Regions from separate parts of the Homo sapiens genome. Here region 2 is linked to region 1. Evidence: promoter capture Hi-C in human tissues and cell types (Jung and others, 2019). All regions are on one chromosome and are shown on one strand. Each heading gives the region's core, a stretch centred on a gene start or on the middle of the fragment in contact. The rest is flanking DNA. Distances are from core to core; before and after follow the strand shown. Region 1 holds the start of PIEZO1 (piezo type mechanosensitive ion channel component 1 (Er blood group)). Region 2 holds the start of DEF8 (differentially expressed in FDCP 8 homolog).

The links. Contacts are between HindIII fragments. The study calls those that stand out against the background at their distance.
Region 2: the fragment with the promoter of DEF8 here is called in contact with the fragment with the promoter of PIEZO1 in region 1 in 2 of the 25 tissues and cell types used here (lymphoblastoid cells and spleen).

The regions. Positions count from the first base shown.
Region 1 is chr16:88,781,044-88,786,821 of GRCh38, reverse strand. It overlaps PIEZO1 (piezo type mechanosensitive ion channel component 1 (Er blood group)), which reads left to right and starts at 1,602. Exons shown (of 51, transcript NM_001142864.4): 1 at 1,602-1,921. The coding sequence starts at 1,858. RefSeq lists silencers at 1,104-1,433, 1,474-1,953, 2,454-2,773 and enhancers at 1,458-2,371, 4,854-4,933, 4,944-5,313, 5,334-5,473, 5,514-5,643. The HindIII fragment of the contact is 3,328 bases long and covers 1,409-4,736 here.
Region 2 is chr16:89,945,448-89,951,350 of GRCh38, reverse strand. DEF8 (differentially expressed in FDCP 8 homolog) reads right to left here and starts at 2,596. Exons shown (of 13, transcript NM_001242818.2): 1 at 2,537-2,596; 2 at 1,838-1,934. RefSeq lists a silencer at 2,467-2,566 and an enhancer at 3,247-3,586. The HindIII fragment of the contact is 40,323 bases long and covers 1-5,903 here.

The DNA.
Region 1 (5,778 bases), core at 353-2,852:
CTTTAAACACTAGACTTCCCATGAAAATCTCCATTTCTGGGTGGTTTTTTTTTTTTTAATGGAGTTTCGTTCTTGTCACTCAGGCTGGAGTGCAATGGCATGATCTCGGCTCACGGCAACCTCTGCCTCCCAGGTTCAAGCGATTTTCCTGCCTCGGCCTCCTGAGTAGTTGGGAATACAGGCGCCTGCCATCACGCCCGGCTAATTTTTGTATATTTATTTATTTATTTATTTATTTATTTATTTATTTATTGAGACGGAGTCTGGCTCTGTCGCCCAGGCTGGAGTGCAGTGGCGCTATCTCGGCTCACTGCAAGCTCCGCCTCCTGGGTTGATGCCATTCTCCTGCCTCAGCCTCCCGAGTAGTTGGGACTACAGGAGCCCGCCACCACGCCCGGCTAATTTTTTATGTTTTTAGTAGAGATGGGTTTTCACCGTGTTAGCCAGGATGGTCTCGATCTCCTGACCTGGTGATCCACCCGCCTCGGCCTCCCAAAGTGCTGGGATTACAGGCGTGAGCCACCGCGCCCGGCCTAATTTTTGTATTTTTAGTAGAGACGGGGTTTCACCATGTTGGCCAGGCTGGTCTCGAACTCCTGACGTCAAGTGATCCCCCGACCCCCTACCCCCTTGCCTCAGCCCCGCAAAGTGCTGGGATTACAGGCCTGAGCCACTGCCCCGCCATCTTTTTTTTTTTTTTTTTTTTTTGAGCTGGAGGGTGTGGGCTTGTGCTGGGCTCTCATGAGTTGCCAGTGCCTTGAGGCTCAGTGGCCACAGTCCCCCCAGCCCCACTCCCTGCCTTACGCAGCTGAGTTTGAGAGCCATGAACTGAGCCCAATTAAACGGTGTAGAGCCCTTTGCCCTCTTTCTGTGCCCATCTCAAGGGCAGACGAAGGCCAAACTGACGTGGCCTGGGTGAGGGTCCCGAACACCCTGGACTCAGACCCTACCTCTCCGTGGCAGGGCGCCGCGGCAGCAGGTGCACAGGCCGTGGCTCTCACTCTCACCGTCTCACGCCAGAGCGACCCGGGCAAAGCCGCGCGCGGTGGCCGGCGTGGCTGGGAGCAGCCCCCGAGCCCCCGTCAGACCAACGCGGATCGCGGCACTGCTGCGACCCGAGCATCCCGCGTGCTCCCTCCGGGACCACTAGGCCCGGCCGCCGCGGGAACTCCGAGCCTCCCCACGGTCCCCAGGGGGCGCTGCGTGCTCGCGCCTCGGGGAGCAAAGCGAAAGTCGCTCGGGCACGCGGGGTGCAGTTGCGCGTGGGGCGCTGCCTGGGGGAGCCAGAGGCCCCGGGACCCCTTATGTAGCGCCCGGGCCCCAGCCGCAGCCCACCCAGCGAGAAGCGCCCCTGCCCACCGCCGCGCACGCTCGGAGCCGCGGGGCCAAGACTGCGGGAGGGGAGGGGTCCGCTCCGGGCCAGCGCCAGTCGGGGGTCTCCAGGCCCCAACGCACCAGGGCGGGCCGGAGGCGGGACGGGCCGCGCGGGACAGCGGAGGGGGTGCCTGGGCGCGCCGGGCCGTCGGGGAAGCGCGGAGGCGGGCACGCCGGGGAGGGCGGGAGGGGGCCGAGCTTATAAAGGCCCGCGGGCGGAGGAGGGCGGGAGCCGCCGTCCGGCCCAGCTCGGCCCCAGTGAGCCGAGCGCTGCGCTCCGCCGAGGGGCAGGGCGGTCGCCTGAGCGAGCGCGGGCCCGGGACGTCGGCACCGGCGGGGCGGCCGAAGGAGAAGGAGGAAGAGGAGAAGGCGGCGCGCGGGTCCCCGCGGGTCAGCCATGGCGCGCCGGCCCCGGGGCCCCCGCACCGCCCCATAGCGCCGCGGCGTCCGCTCGGTCTGGGCCGGGCCCTGGGCCCTCCAGCCATGGAGCCGCACGTGCTCGGCGCGGTCCTGTACTGGCTGCTGCTGCCCTGCGCGCTGCTGGCTGGTGAGTGGGGGGCGGGCGCCTGGGGGCGACGGGAGGGGGCTGCGTCTCGGCTCCCCACGGCCTGGACACCGGACGACGCCGGCCGGGGCGAGGGCTGCGGGCGAGCGGGCGCGGAAATTCCCAGGGACGCGCGACCCGGGCGCCCGCATTCCTGAAGCATGAGCGCGCCAGGCGGCGGCGGGGCTCCTGTCCCAGGGCCGGGCTGGAAGGGCGGCGGCGGCTGGGGGAGACGGCACCGCGTGCCCACGGGGGCGGTCGAGCGAGCGCCGGGCATAGCGCGGCTGGCGTCTCCGCCGGGGCGCTGCGGAGAGGAGGCCGCCGGGCGAGGCGGTGTTTGCCCCGGTGGGAAGGGCCGCGGCGGTGGTGGGGGGAGCACGAATCTCTTTTTCTCTTTCGGGTTTAAAAAAAAAAGCGCAAAGTTGCATCAGGACTTCCTGACAATCTGGGAGAAGGCGGGCTTCCTGCCTGGAGCTGTTTAATTTGGAGCTTCCCGAGCCCAACGAACGTCCGTGCCCAGGGCCCAGCCCCGCTCACCGCTGCACCCCCCTCTGCCGGACTGAGGCGGTCCCACACTTTGGAAAAAAATAGTGTGGGTTCCTCCCTGGTCCTCCCTTGCCCTACTGGGCTCAGTTTCGCAGGGGCGGGGGCCGGCCTCTGCCCTGGTCTGGGGGAGGGGACACCCCCGGAGGCTGTGGCCTGGTGTCAGGGCGGGGCAGGGGTCCCCAGTCCTGGCATCTGTGTTCCCTGCTTGCCGGGCAGTGGTGCCCCTTTCGCGAAGCACACCCGGGTGGCTTGGTGCTGCACGGCCTGGCACCCCTACCCTTCCCCGACCCTGGCCTAGCCGGGACCCAGGGTCCGCGCCCTCCGCCCGGGGGCTCCCCACGTGTGATTGATCTGGGAAGCAGTCGGATGGAATTAACCCACGGACAAGTGGGACGGTTTGCATTGGGAGTCCGCCATGGACACGGCAGGTGGGGCCTTTTGATTGTAAAAGCCCTTTCGGAGCCCTTGCCTCGCTCCAGGTGGGAGCTCGCCCAGCGCTAGCTTTGGGGATCTAGAGCCGCCTGCCTGAGGCTCCCAGACAGACTGCGTTTTGATCGGTCGCACAGAAAGGTGGTGAAACTTGGGGAAGATTTTCTAGACAGGAATCAATGAAAACCATTGAGGCTGGAGAGGAGAGGTTTTGAGCAACTCTCTTCAGTGCGGTCAGCCCTGTGTGGACTGGGCAGCCTGGGACCTGCTCCCAGTGCAGGGTCAGATGGGCCGTAAACAGGGCCCGGCTGTGTTCCTTCCTGTGCCTTGAAAACAAGCAGGACAGCCTGGCACAGAGGCAGAGTCTAGAGCTGACAGGCCTTAGAGAGGGAAACAGGAAAGCTTCTGAAACGTCCCGTTCACACTGATCGTTCCATTTCCTCTTGTGTCTGAGTGGGAGCGGGTGTCCTCCCTGCAGGGAATGCCCCCCCTCTCAGATGGCAGCTGCTCCTTGGGCAGAGTTGGCAATGTTTTTCTTTAAATGACCAGATGGTAAATATTTTCATGTCACAAAATCTTCTTCTTCTGGTATTTTTCCAGCCATTAAATGTAAAAGCCCTCCTGAGTTCATGGGCTGTACCTAAACAGGTGTTGAGCCCGATTCTGTGGCACATGTGGTTTGCTGCCCCCTGGGCATTGGTCAGGGGGCCTGGGTTCTGCCTTCTCGATTGCTATCCGCGTGGGGGATCTGGGGGAGGGATCACTGTTCTTCTTGCTTTTGGCCTCCTTGGGGAGGATGGGGAGGTAGCCCAGGGGTGCTCACCCAGGCCCCGTGTCAGTCTTCTATGAAACTTTTAAAGAATAGTGATGACTGACTGTCTGTCTGTATGGTACTTTCCTTAAACCTAAAACTGGTCCCAAATAAAGTCTCTTAATTTGAAAGATGCTGAAGCCCGGGCCATACCCCACACTGATTCTGTGTCTGGGGATGGGGCGTGGGGCCTGGGCCTCACTCAGTGTTTTCTCTCAGTCACCTGGGGGAGATGGAAGTGGAGCCGGCCAAGAACCCTGCCTGCCTGCCTGCTGGCCGGGACTCCTGAGTCAGGCTCTCTGGCCCTGGGGTGTGGGCAGCTCCAGATGGACCCGCGATGTGCAGGTTCAGCTGGCCTGGCCGGAGGTGGGACACTGGCTTTGCTGTCTTTGGAGTGCCCCCTCCCTCTCTGGCGAGCTTTGGCTGGAAGCAGTTCTACCGTGTTTTGGAAATGAATGAGGCCTTCAGAAGGCATTAGTCAGTGTGTGCCTGCGCTGGCTCAGACAGTGCCTGGTGAGGGTTTGAGTCATCCTGGGGTGCCCCTGGCCCCCACGCCCTCCCTCTCCAGTGCAGGATCATTACCCAAAAATCTGGCAGGGAGCTGCCCCACCCACAGGGAGCAGGGGCCTCCTTCAGCAGTCTCACCTAATGTTGCTGGAGCCTTGGGGGATCAGGGCCCATCTCTTCTAGAGAGATGTCAGGGCAGGGCTGGGCGCGATGGCTCACACCTGTAATCCCAGAGCTTCGGGAGGCCAAGGTGGGAGGATTGCTTGAGCGTAGCCATTCGAGAGCAGCCTGGGCAACGTAGAGATCCCCATCTCTATGAAAAATATTTAAAAATTAGCTGGGCATGGTGGTAGTGCACCTGTAGTCCCAGCTACTCAGGAGGCCAAGGTGGGATGATTGTTTGAGTCCAGGAGTTGGAGGCTACAGTGAGCCATGATTGTATGACTGCACTCCAGCCTGGGTGACAGACCCTGTCTCAAAAAAGAAAAAGGAAAAAAAAGGGCAGGACATTTGTGATTCTGATAATATGGGACCGCACCTCCAGTTCTATCAGTGGGAAATCTAGACAGGGCTGCGGAAAGCCAGCTGGTGCGAGAGGAGCCACCGTGTCACTGACTGTGGGACACCCACGTGGGCTGACAATATGGCTTCTGCTTTTCAGGGTGCCTCGTGGCACAGCCTAGGGGCACACCCACGGCCGGCAAGCTGGGCGTCACCTCCTTCAGGCTGATTGTCACTGAGAAGTGTCACCATTTAGCATGAGGGATGCTGCCTCCTTTTTCAGAACATTGTCACCATCAGGGTCTCACCACTCCTGGGAGGCGGCCGAGAAGCTGGGGAACAGCAGGCACTCGGCTCACAGTTGCTCAGCAGTGCAGACCCTCTGAGCTGAGCATGGCAGAGTCACCCTTCGGAGGCCTGTGCCCGGGTCTCAGGACCTGCACAGAACCCTGGCCTGTCCCATCCGAGGGTGCTGGGAAGAGCATGGCCGTGGCAGAGTAGGGTGGGAGCTGCTTTCCTCTGTGGCTTGGGGGCCCCTTCTGAGCATCAGCTCCCTGGTGTGACAGAGGGGCGCACTCTGTCCCCATGCTGGGCCTGGAGGCTGGATGAGTCAGCAGGAGAGCCTGGGGCCTGCCTCACAGCACCAAGGGCTGCAGGTGTGAGTGTGCACATGTGTGCGTGTTTGGGGAAGGGGCCAGGGACTGCCCAGGAGCTGAGGATGGGTCACAGCGGGTGCTCGTCCCGCAGCGGGTCACTGGTGCCCAGGACACAGGGAGCTCCAGCCCCAGCTGCCAGGGTCCCACAGAGAGGAAGTTTCCTCTGGGGGTGGGTGGGGGCGCACAGTCTCTGATCCTGGCCCCAAGGCAGCTTCCTGGGCGGTGTCTCTCCTGTGCTGACTCGGCAGTGCATTTGCTTTCGGTGCTCAAAGATGAAGGGGAACCACCGTGGGCCTTGACGGCCTCATCTGCCCGCTGCAGCCCACTCCTGAGATGGGACCACCGCAGTCGTCAGGGTCCAGTGAGAGCCGCATCTTGCAGGAAGCCATTCCTGGCCTCTCTGGCCTCAG
Region 2 (5,903 bases), core at 1,347-3,846, 1.2 Mb before region 1:
ATCGCTTGAACCCAGGAGGTGAGCCGAGATTGAGCCACTGCACTCCAGCTTGGGTGACAGAGTGAGACTCCATCTCAGAAAAAAAAAAAAGAAAAGATTCTGACTGATGATCCCAATAGTTTCATGGTAACAAGACAGACACGTCCAGCTTGAATCCCAACTCTGCTAGCTCCTAGCTGTGTGACCTTGGGTAAGTGGATAAACGTTTCTCTGCCTCCATTCTCCCATGTCTCAAATGGGGATTACAATAGTACCATACAGGGTTATTGTCAAGATTAAAGTAGTTAATACTAAGTTCAGAGAACACTGGCCGGCACATAGTAAGCACCCAATAAATATTGATTATAATTTATCATTATTACTTTTTTTTGAGACAGGGTGTTGCTCTGTCACCCGAGCTGGAGTGCAGTGGTGCGATCACAGCTCACTGCAGCCTCAAACTCCTGGGCTGAAGGGGTCCTCCCATATTAGCCTCCCAAGTAGCTGGAACTCCAGTGTGTGCCACCACACTCAGCTAATTTTTTTTAACTTTTTGTAGAGACGGAGTCTCACTCTGATGCCCAGGCTGGTCTCAAACTCCTGGCTTCAAGCAACCCTCCTGCCTCTGCCTCCCAAATTGCTGGGATTATAGGTGTGAGCTACCATGCCTGGCCTATTACTGTTATTTTTAAGAATCATGGCCGGTGTGTGGTGGCTCACTTTGGGAGGCTGAGGCGGGTGGATCATTTGAGGTCAAGAGTTCAAACCAGCCTGACCAACATGGTGAAACCCCGTCTGTACTAAAAACACAAACAAATTAGCTGGGCATGGTGGTGCATGCCTGTAATCCAGCTACTTGGGAAGCTGAGGCAGGAGAATCACTTGAACACGGGAGGTGGAGGTTGCAGTGAGCCGAGATTGTGCCACTGCACTCCAGCCTAGGCAACACAGCAAAACTCCATCTCAAAAAAAAAAAAAAAATCAGCCCTGATTTAGACTCTGGTTCTCCATTGTCTTGCCTATAAATCAGGGGGAACACCTACTTTCTGGGGTGGATGGAAGGGCTAAGGACTTGTTTATGATGTCAGTGAAGCCAGGAGCCCAGAGCTGCTCAGAACAGACTGGCACTGTCATCACATATGGTGACCAGCCCAGGAAAAAGGTGCAGGAGCTACGCCTGGGGAAGCCGCTGGAAACCTCCTGGTGTTTAAAACATGGCCAGAGGAGCGTCAAGGAAGGCACGCTGGCAGGGACACCTCCGTTCTGCCCAGCAGCTGTACTCTAGGCTACCAGCTCTCCTCCGGGCTGTGAAAAAAGGCATCTTTTATTTGCCTATTTACTGACAGTCAGTGCCAGCCCCAGGCCTGGCGCACGGGCAGGGGATGAATGAGGGGAGGCCGCTGGCCTCGCAGCCTTAGCTTCTGCTCACACAGACCTGGGGATGCCGGCCACAGTGGCCGACTCTGAGCAGAACGCCAGCCTGCCCCTCTCACCAGGCTCACCCCACCAGTTCTGCACCCAGATGTGGGACTTGGCCTCAGAAAGGAGCGGGCAGGAAGTGGAAGAGTGAAAGCAAGAGGTCTGGCCACCCCCTGCCCCTCCTCTAGAGCCCACTGCTCTCATCGGGGAGGACCCCACAACTTAGCAATGAAAGGAAGCCGAAGAAAGCCGGCGGGGTTCCGGGGCACGGAGGGACCCTGGGCCGAAGCTCAGGACACGCGGGATGCACGGACCTGGCCTCCCGCGTCCTGCCCGCGGCGTGACCACCAGGAAGCGGTGTCATCACTGCAGCTGCCACCCCGAGAACCTGAGAAGTCACCCCGGTGTGCGGAGTCAACAGCGTCCTGTCTGCCCATACCTGCATCGCCTGCCAGGGCCCAGGGGCTCGCAGGGACAGGATGGCCATTCCTCTAGGGCTGCTGGCCACGGAAGCCTGGCCGTGGGTTCGGCACCTGCTGCAGGGAGAAGCCACCCCAGCACTGTGCCTCCCCACCCACCACACCCGCGGGAGCTCGCCCGGTCTCCCGGGCTCCTCGGGGGCAGGTCTCTCCCACCCACCCGTTCCACCGAGGGGGAAACTGAGGCTCGGAGCAGCCCAGGGCGGGGGCACGGCCACGCGGGTCCCCTGAGCCGCCCGGGTGCTCCGCACGCAGCTGGTGTGGACGCCGGAGCAGCGGCGGCGTCCCCGGGGTGGGGCGGCCGAGGTCTCGAGGCCCCTGCGCCGGGCGGGCCGCCCTCCCAGCCCCGTCCCCGCCGGCCCCGACCTCGCCGGCCCCGTCCCCGCCGGCCCCGTCCCCGCCGGCCCCGTCCCTCCCAGCCCCGACCCCGCCGACCCCGTCCCCGCCGGCCCCGTCCCTCCCAGCCCCGACCCCGCCGGCCCCGTCCCCGCCGGCCCCGTCCCCGCCGGCCCCGTCCCTCCCAGCCCCGTCCCCGCCGACCCCGTCCCCGCCGGCCCCGTCCCTCCCAGCCCCGACCCCGCCGACCCCGTCCCCGCCGGCCCCGTCCCCGCCGGCCCCGTCCCCGCCGGCCCCGACCCCGCCGGCCCCGCGCCGCTCACCTGACCGCCGCCTCGCATCTGTCTCCCGGCTGCGCTGGATCCGCCCGGCCGCCCCGCTACGCTGGATCCAGCCCCGCGCTCGCTGCTGCCGCCTCCGGCGCGGAGGTTCATGGCACGCGGGTCGCGAGTCTGCGAGCCCCGGAGTCCGCCCGGCTGTTCCGCGGGCCTGACCTGGGGCTGCGCGTCCTGGGTTTCCTCTCATCGCAGAAGGCCTGTGGCTGAAACCCAAACCCCAACACGTTTAAAAAAAATGGGCGGGCGCGGCGGCTCACGCCTGTCATCCCAGCGCTTCGGGAGGCCGAGGCGGGCGGATCGCGAGGTCAGGAGATCGAGACCATCCTGGCTAACACGGTGAAACCCCGTCTCCACTAAAAATACGAAAAATTAGCCGGGCGCGGTGGCGGGCGCCTGTAGTCCCAGCTACGCGGGAGGCTGAGGCGGGAGAACGGCGTGAACCCGGGAGGCGGAGCTCGGAGTGAGCCGAGATCGCACCACTGCACTCCAGCCTGGGCGACAGAGCGAGACTCCGTCTCAAAAAAACAAAAAGGGTGGCTTTTAACACTTTTTTTAACCTCAGTGGTTGAGGAGGAAAAAGGAACAGAGAACCACCGTGTGCAGGTGCCGCCAGCCACCTGCAGGGCCCCGCGGGGGCTTCACGGCTGCAGAGGGAGGGACCCGGCGCGGCTCTACCCTCTTTACACAGGAGGACGCGCCACACTGCGCTCAGGAGGCTGCTCCATGCAGGCGCCGGGCAGCGGGACTTCGGAGGCAGCTGGTGTCCGCGGGCCCTGGCGTTATTCCTGCTTTCCCGTTGTTTACACACAGAGCAGGCCTGCTGCTCCCCGCCCCCGTATCCCTACTCTTAGGCTTCTCGCGTGGAAGATTCAGCTGCCCCCGCTTGTGCCCGCAGGGAGGAGCTGAGGACAGATGAAGGCCAGCATATGCGCCTGGTGCGCTTGCCCTGAGCTCGCGGGCTCAGTTTACCCTCCCTGCAGAAAGGTGTGGTTTTGGCTGCCTCTGGGGCTTGGTCCACTTTGTTCAGTGGGCATGGTGATGACAGTGCCAGTAACTGGAGGCCTCCCAAGTGGGAGCCACACACCACCTTGCAGAGACCAGCTCGGTCGGGGAGACCCTAACCCGGCAGCGCTAGAGGAACTAAAGACACACACACACAGAGATAGAGAGGTGTGGAGTGGGAAATCAGGGGTCTCACAGCCTTCAGAGCTGACAGCCTCGAACAGAGACTTACCCACGTATTTATTAACGGCAAACCAGTGATAAGCATTGTTTCTGTAGATATTAGACTAACTAAAAGTATCCCTTATGGGAAACGAAGGGATGGGCCAAGATAAAGGGATGGGTCTGGCTAGTTACCTGCAGCAGGAGCATGTCCTTAAGGCACAGATCGCTCACGCTATTGTTTGTGGCTTAAGAATGCCTTTAAGCAGTTTTCCGCCCTGGGTGGGCCAGGTGTTCCTTGCCCTCATTCTGGTAAACCCACGACCTTCCAGCGTGGGCGTCATGGCCGTCATGAACATGTCACAGTGCTGCAGAGATTTTGTTTATGGCCAGTTTTGGGACCAGTTTATGGCCAGGTTTTGGGGGGCGTGTTGCCAACACCATCTCATTTAACCCTACGGAAGCCTGGGGGCCAGCAGTCACCTACAGGACAGGCAACTCCATCGGCCCCCCCAAGGCCACATCGCTCAGAAAGGGTGCAGTGAGATTCCACCCCAGCTTAGGGTGGCTTCGGACGCCGTGTCCCTCCATGCACTCAGACCTGGAGGGAGACTGCCCTGAGCCGCCGCTCTATCTGCTGCTTCAAGGTCCCCAGTCCTAGAGATTCCACGTCCACCTGGCCTCTCTCCCAGCTCCTCCTTCTGGAAAGGCCTTCCCCATCTCAGCTCCCACCTGGGCCCCACAGTACATCCTCAGCCTGGCAGTGAGAGGGACCCTGGGAAGAAGTCGGCCCCCACCTTCACCTCCTGGCTCCTCTCCCCAACAGGCCAGGCCCACCCCCACCCCCACCTTCACCTCCTGGCTCGTCTCCCCAACAAGCCAGGCCCACCCCCACCGGGGCCCCTGCCTGGCTGAGCCTCTGTGGAGCAGTCCTCCCCAGTAACCCCAACACCTCCTCCTTGCCTCTGCTCAGCAGTCCTCAGTGATCTCTGGGAGGCAGGGCCCTTCCCCTCACTCACTCACCTTCTCCCTAATCACTCGTCACTGTCTGATGTCTTCGGTTTTGCACATTTTTCTTTATTATTTCTGCCCCCCAGCCCCAACCACCAGAAGCAAAGAGCCGTAGGCAGCATTTTGTTGGCCTTCTTTGCTGCTTAATGGCCAGTGCCTGGACACAGAGGGTGCTTCCTTGCATGGACTGAGAAAGGAATGGGTCCCCGGTTGAGGCTGGCCCTGAGAGGAAGGAGGTTCCTCCCAGCAGGTGGCCCACTGCCCAAATGCATGTTAGAACCGGTTGTGGATCTGAACCAGTGTCTACAGAAGCAATGGGAACCCTCCTCCAAGGAGAGACAAAGATAAACCCACACTCTACACGCAGTTTAAGGTCTACTTTCTTAATCAGAATGTGTTGGCCAGGCGCGGTGGCTCATGGCTGGAATCCCAGCACCTTGAGAGGCCGAGGTGGGAGGATTGCTTGAGCCCAGGAATTTGAGGCTGCAGTGACCCGCTGCACTCCAGCTTGGGTGACAGAGCAAGACCCTGTCTCTAAAAATAAATAAATAAGTAAATAAACATAGAGTGTGTCATGACCATCTCTATTCCTCTGTAGACATTCAACAACACATTTTTTTAATTTTTAAATTTTTATTTATTTTGGGACAGGGTCTCACTCTGTCACCCACGCTGGAGTGCAGCGGCTCAGTCTCACCTCACTGCAACCTCCACCTCCCAGGCTCAAGTGGTTCTACCAGTTCAGCCTCCTGAGTAGCCAGGATCACAGGCAAGCGCCGCCACCTGGCTAATTTTGTTTGTGTTTTTTGTAGAGACATTTGCCACATTGCCCAGGGTGGTCTTGGAATCCTGGACTCAAGTGATCCACCCACCTCAGCCTCACAGAGTGCTGGGATTGCAGGCGTGAGCTACCACGCCCGGCCCCATTTTATTCTTATTTTTTATTAAGAGACAAGATCTCAGTCTGGCTAAAGCACAGCGGCATGAGCACAGCTCCCTGCAGCCCCGAATGGCTGGGTTCAAGTGATCACCCAGGCTTAGCCTCCCAGAGTCCTGGGAGAATCTGCAGTTACAGATAATTTATATACTGGTTTAGAACATTTACTATTTTGTTTTCTTTTCTTTCAGATGGGGTTGCCCAGACTGGCCTCCATCTCCTGGGCTCAAATGATCCTCC